Regions from separate parts of the Homo sapiens genome. Here region 1 is linked to region 2. The links are contacts of gene promoters, found by promoter capture Hi-C in blood cells and fetal thymus (Javierre and others, 2016). All regions are on one chromosome and are shown on one strand. The core of a region is centred on a gene start or on the middle of the fragment in contact, and the rest is flanking DNA. Distances in the headings are between cores, read along the strand shown.

Evidence for each region. The method cuts DNA at HindIII sites, captures the fragments that hold promoters and counts their contacts. A CHiCAGO score of 5 or more calls a contact.
Region 1: a contact is called between a fragment that was not itself captured here and the fragment with the promoter of USF3 in region 2, in 1 of 17 cell types (fetal thymus). The highest score is 6.7, in fetal thymus.

The regions. Positions count from the first base shown.
Region 1 is chr3:120,094,636-120,097,335 of GRCh38, reverse strand. GSK3B-DT (GSK3B divergent transcript) reads right to left here and starts at 2,232. Exons shown (of 3, transcript NR_186629.1): 1 at 1,558-2,232. RefSeq lists enhancers at 1,781-2,100, 2,380-2,674, 2,301-2,700. The HindIII fragment of the contact is 601 bases long and covers 1,150-1,750 here.
Region 2 is chr3:113,695,255-113,698,001 of GRCh38, reverse strand. It overlaps USF3 (upstream transcription factor family member 3), which reads left to right and starts at 1,360. Exons shown (of 7, transcript NM_001009899.4): 1 at 1,360-1,632. RefSeq lists silencers at 1,150-1,619, 1,640-2,029. The HindIII fragment of the contact is 8,785 bases long and covers 1-2,298 here.

The DNA of each region.
Region 1 (2,700 bases), core at 201-2,700, 6.4 Mb before region 2:
TTTTTTTTTTTGAGACGGAGTTTTGCTCTTGTTGCCTTGGCTGGAGTGCAATGGTGCGATCTCAGCTCACTGCAACCTCCACCTCCTGGGTTCAAGCAATTATCCTGCCTCAGCCTCCCAAGTAACTGGTATTATAGACGCCCGCCACCACGCCCAGCTAAGTTTTAAAGTTTTAGTAGAGACGGGGTTTCACCATGATGACCAGGCTAGTCTTGAACTCCTAACCTCAGGCGATCCACCTGCCTCGGCCTCCCAAATTGCTGGGATTACAGTCATAAGCCACCACTCCTGGCTTGTCCATAAACTCTTGATCTTGAGCTAACATGATATGCACATTATAAGATACACACAGAAATAAAAAAAGGATTAAAGGTGCACTATTTTAAAGATAAATTTCAACCGGCCCGGTGTGGTGGCTTACGCCTGTAATCCTGACACTCTGTGAGGCTGAGGCAGGCAGATCACCTGAGGTCGGGAGTTCGAGACCAGCCTGACCAACATGAAGAAACCCCGTCTCTACTAAAAATACAAAAGTAGCTGGCATGGTGGCACATGCCTGTGATCCCAACTACTTGGGAGGCTGAGGCAGGAGAATCACTTGAATCGGGGAGGCGGAGGTTGCGGTGAGCCGAGATCGCGCCACTGCACTCCAGCCTGGGCAACAAGAGTGAAACTCCGTCTCAAAAATAAATAAATAAATAAAGATACATTTCAATTATTTAAGGTCCCAAACCATTTTGTTTTCACCCTCCTACTGCTATCGGGCCCCTAACAATTATTAACACTTTTTCCAATGCCTCATTGGCCAAGGGATGTTTTTAGGTTGGCCTGCAGGGTTTGAAAATTTGGTTACCAACATTTAAAAATGCAGAGATTTCACACAAAAATCCAATTTTGGGGTTTCTTTTGGGAGGAAAAAAATTGAACATCTGAGAACACTGGACCCACATTCCTGAGGGCAACAATCTGCTAGAGTTGAGCAGCTGTTCCTTTTAGTTATGGCATGGATATTCCAATTTGCCATTTTCCCTATCATTCCCCATTGTCTTACACAAGGCCAGTCTCACTCATTTGCTTTACTTGTCTGGCCTCTGTAGCCATTTGAATCTGCAAACACTATCTAGACCTTTCCTGTCTTCCATCAAAGCTTACTTTGTTCTGTCCCAAGTCCTTCATCAGTGTTTCAAAGCAAGAGCCAGGTAATCTGATCAAATATAGGTCCTTTAACATGTGCTTTCTGGAGACAGCATCTTAACAGAAAGAGATGACTCTGCAGGTAGAAATTACAGGCACCACTGGATTACAATCAGGATGGCAACTGTCTGTTCTACTTTCTCTGTTATCTTGACGTAGCCATACCTCACTGTTCTAAAGCAGACCAAAGGAACTGGTTCTATGGTAGAACAATGGACGCTGGTCTTATGTATGAAATCTTCTCAAGCTGCACTTTTATAGATCACCCTAGTTCCAAAAGATCCAAAGCTACCACGGGCTCCTCTGACCCCCCCATTTCCTCGGAGGCTTCAGGATATCCGGCCTGACGGCATTTCCCCTCACCTGCTTTCGGGGCCCGTTTTGCGCTGGGCAGTTGCGCCCAAGGAGCGCGCGCATCCAGCATGAGCTCATTTCTCATGGGCGTTTCCAGAGGCCCGGCCGGGCCGCGCACACCAAGCGCAGCAAGCCTCTGTATCAATGGCCCCCGCGGCTGGGCGGGGCGCGGCCGCCCAAAGGCGCTGCCTTTCTGGAAGCTTTGTTCCCATTTTAGCGTCTGAGAGCTTGCAGCCGGCTGGGAAGGCCCCCTTGGTCCGTCTGGCCCTTTCGGGGAAGAGGCCAACACTCGGCACACGCGATCCACGGCAGAGGGGAGCCTTGGGCGCGCAGAATTGGCTGCGCCCCGCCGAGAGCCTCCTGTGGGTGGGGAGAGCCCCTCCACCCCTCTGCTCGCTTGAGCGCTCAGAGCCCAGGGCCGCCGACCGCAGCACTTTCCGATTTGCTGCACCGAGGGCCCGCGGTCCCTGTGTGCGGTTTCCACCGTTGTTGGAGGCGGCCGCAGGCGAACCGTCGGGTCGTCAGCCACGACCCGAGTCAGGCATCTCCCCGCTCCTGGGACCGGGGCCGAAGGCCAATCACACTGCAGCTAGGTCTTGCGATTGGACGGCAGTGAGAGCCGATTGGCCGCCGCCGCGAGTTTCGGGCTCCCTCCCTCTCCCTTTTGCCCCAACTCCAGCGCCTAAGCTTCAGGCCAATGAGACAGCGCTTTATAGACGCCCTCCCTTCGCTTTCTTCTCCCCACCTTGGAGAGGGAGGGGAAGTCCTGACTGGCCAGACTGTCCTCGGAAGCCCCCTTCTCTTCACCAATCACCGAAGGAGGTACGCTCCCAGCGGAGTTTTCCAGCCAATCACAAAGCGGCGGCGGCGCCCAGCCGTGCAGTTTCACCAGCGTCTCTGGGTTTCACCGTCCTCAACTCTTCAAGCCTCTTCGTAAGGGCCGGCGACTCTGATTGGCCACTGTTGCCATTGTCGAATGTCTCCTCCAGCCAGCCACCGAACAAGGCGAATTCACCCTTTCCGTTCGGCTACCTTCGGCATTTTCCGCTCTTTGGGCGTGGCTTCCCAGCGTCACTTTCTAATTGGTTTCTCAGGCTGATCGGCTTTTTCCGGGAGGAGCCGCAAACAAACGACGTCCGTGATTGGCTCCGT
Region 2 (2,747 bases), core at 111-2,610:
AGCATTGCTATTATGGCTCTGACTCGTAGAATCTTTCTTATCTGCAGTTTTGATTTGGATGTGCCAAGTCTGTTCAAAGGCTAATTAGAACTTCGTGTGCCTAGATGGATGAGTTAAAGAAAATTTCTAGCCTGTTTATTAGTACCACAGTTTATAAGCAACATTACAGGCCTTCCGTTTCATCATAGCTTTTCAATCTGCTGTACAAACATAAGACTCCGTTACTGTTAGCCTTTACCCTTTTGCTCAATGCGATGTCTGCTGCTTCTGTATACAGGCTCAAGTAATTCCCATTATGCCATGCCCTGTGTGCACCTTCTGGAAGTTAGCCCACGGACATCTAAGATCTGGGATATTTCCAAATCTGGTTGTGGAAGGGCTTGGAAATCTATAACCGCAACTAGGTGGAGGACACCTGTTTCAGCAGGAGGTTATAAAATATGAAGCGAAACTAGGAAGAGGGAGTTGTGATCACGGTTCCAAGGGCTCCACACAGATCCTGGAGTTAAGGGGCACTCAGGTCTCCATTTCGTGACCCCTGGCCCTACCTCTCCTAGATCCAGGTATTTAGTAACCCAGGCTTGAGATCTCAAACCCCATCCCCCAATGCCAAACTCCCTTGTCCCAGCTGGGAGGCCCCCAGGGCATTTCTGAACATGGCCATCTCCAATTCACAGAAATCTGTGTGTTGTTGCAAATAAAGGATGACAAGAGACCACAGCCTACGAATGCGAGCAGCGTCAAGTCAGCAACAATCTTCCAGTTATCGAGAAGTCGGAAACGTCTGATTCTTTCTTCTCCACATTTACTAAGACGTATCTTCTCACCTTCCTGCCCTCCACGTTAAGAGGGGCTAACTATTCCGAAAGACTTCCGTGCCCTCTTCCTTTTCAATTTTTCCACTTCCAAACTCCTACCGAAAGACGAAGAAAAGAGACCACAGAAGAAGATACAAAGAAGTTTCTTAAAACACCTTCTTTTCTAGGTTCTCAAGGCGTCCCCTTTAAGGAACCAGGCCCACCTCTTTCCCATTCACCTACTGGCTTTCCTTCCTGTCCGTCACTCTACCTTTAAGAATATTTCCTGTTTCTTCAACCCAACTTGCACACCTCCGCCCCCCGGCCCTCCTCATTGGGCCGCCCGATCCCCGTTCACTCCTTGGTTTCCTCTCCGCCTCCTCCCGCCCTCTAGCGTAGTGCAACGGCATTCTGTCTTCTTATTGGCTACCACGGCAGCGTTCCCGCAGCCTGATTGGCGGGTTGAGTGAAAGAGGCGGGAACGCGGCGCGCCCAGGGTAGGCTGTTCGCTTGCTGAGCTGCGGCCGCGGGAGGGGCGGGGAGGGGCGGGGGGAGGGGGGCTGGGAAAGTTGAGGCCGCGCTGCCGCCGGGTCTCCGGCCTTGAGGGCTCGGGCTCGCAGCGGCTGCGGTGGCCGCAAAAAGAGGCGGCGGGGGCGGGGGGAGAGGAGGGCCTGGGCCCGCGCTCCCCCAGCCCCGGAGGAGCAGGCGGTGGCCGCGGACGGAGAGATTCGCCCAGACGGTCAGACACTCCTGCCTTCCCCTCCTGGGATCATGACCCAGGCGGGGGTCGCCGCCGTCGCCGCCGCCACCGCGGCCGAGACCGCGCAGCCGGCGGGTAAGTGACTGCGGGAGGGGGCCGCTGACAGCCGGGGCGGGGGGCGGGGGCCAGGGCTGCGGGGGCGGCTCCGGAGGGCGGCCCCGGGCTCAGCTCCACCCACCCCCTTCCTGCTCCGGGAGGCCAGGGCTGCGCTAAGTGCGCCTCCTTCCTGGGGACCCTTGCGTGCGGCACCTGGTGGGGCGTCAGCGCCCGCGGCGAGCGCACCCCTCATCTCCCGCCCGCCCTGCGTCCCCGGCTGCCAGGCCCGTGGGGGGCTCGCACTGCGCCCCAGCTCCTAGATGCGCGCGGGGCGAGAGGGGCCCCACGCTGCCCTGGGTGCATAAAGAGCTGGGCAGCCAGGTTCACACCAGATGGCCTTTGCCCGCCTCCTTCACCTTTTCCTGTCTTCTTCATTCCCCTTCTTTCCTTGCCCTCTGAATTTCTTTCGTACCCGTTCGTCAGACTCATGTGGCTTGCTTTTTCCCTCTCACCCCTCTGTCGAAGTGTTAGGCTTGTGTTTTCTTTTTAGAAGCCGTTCTTTTGCTTTCTGAGTAGAAGCAGTGCAAGTGAATGACCAACTCTTGAAATCTACTTTCATGTATCCGGATGAAATATAAGATTCCTGGACTCTTGTTCATGTTTACAATTTTGATAGTTGAATTCACCCCACTCGTTCTTGAAGCTTGTCCTCCCAACCCTCCTCGTTACATTGGGATATGGTCCTTTGCGTTTATTAACTTTATCTGGAAATATGAGACTGCATAAACCAAAGTGCAGAATTTCAACTTCCGTTCTTGTAACATTTTTACCATCAAGTAGATACAGTAACCTAACACCACACAGATCAAGACAGTCGTGGCCAACTGTGTAGGCAAAGAAGACATTTCCTTACCTATAAACAACGTACAGATTTCTTGAATAAATCTTACGGTGAGTTACATGGATCCTGAAACATATTCCCAGGTTTGCTCTTTTGTAAAGAAAACCAAACAGACAAACCTGCCTTTTGAAGGATCAACAGGCTGTCCTACTCTCCATTCACCTTGATGACTTTTTTCTCTCCCATAGAACTCTTGTTTAACATAGTACAGAGTTGCTGTTTGGGATACATGTGTTGTTTCTCTTTAAGTACT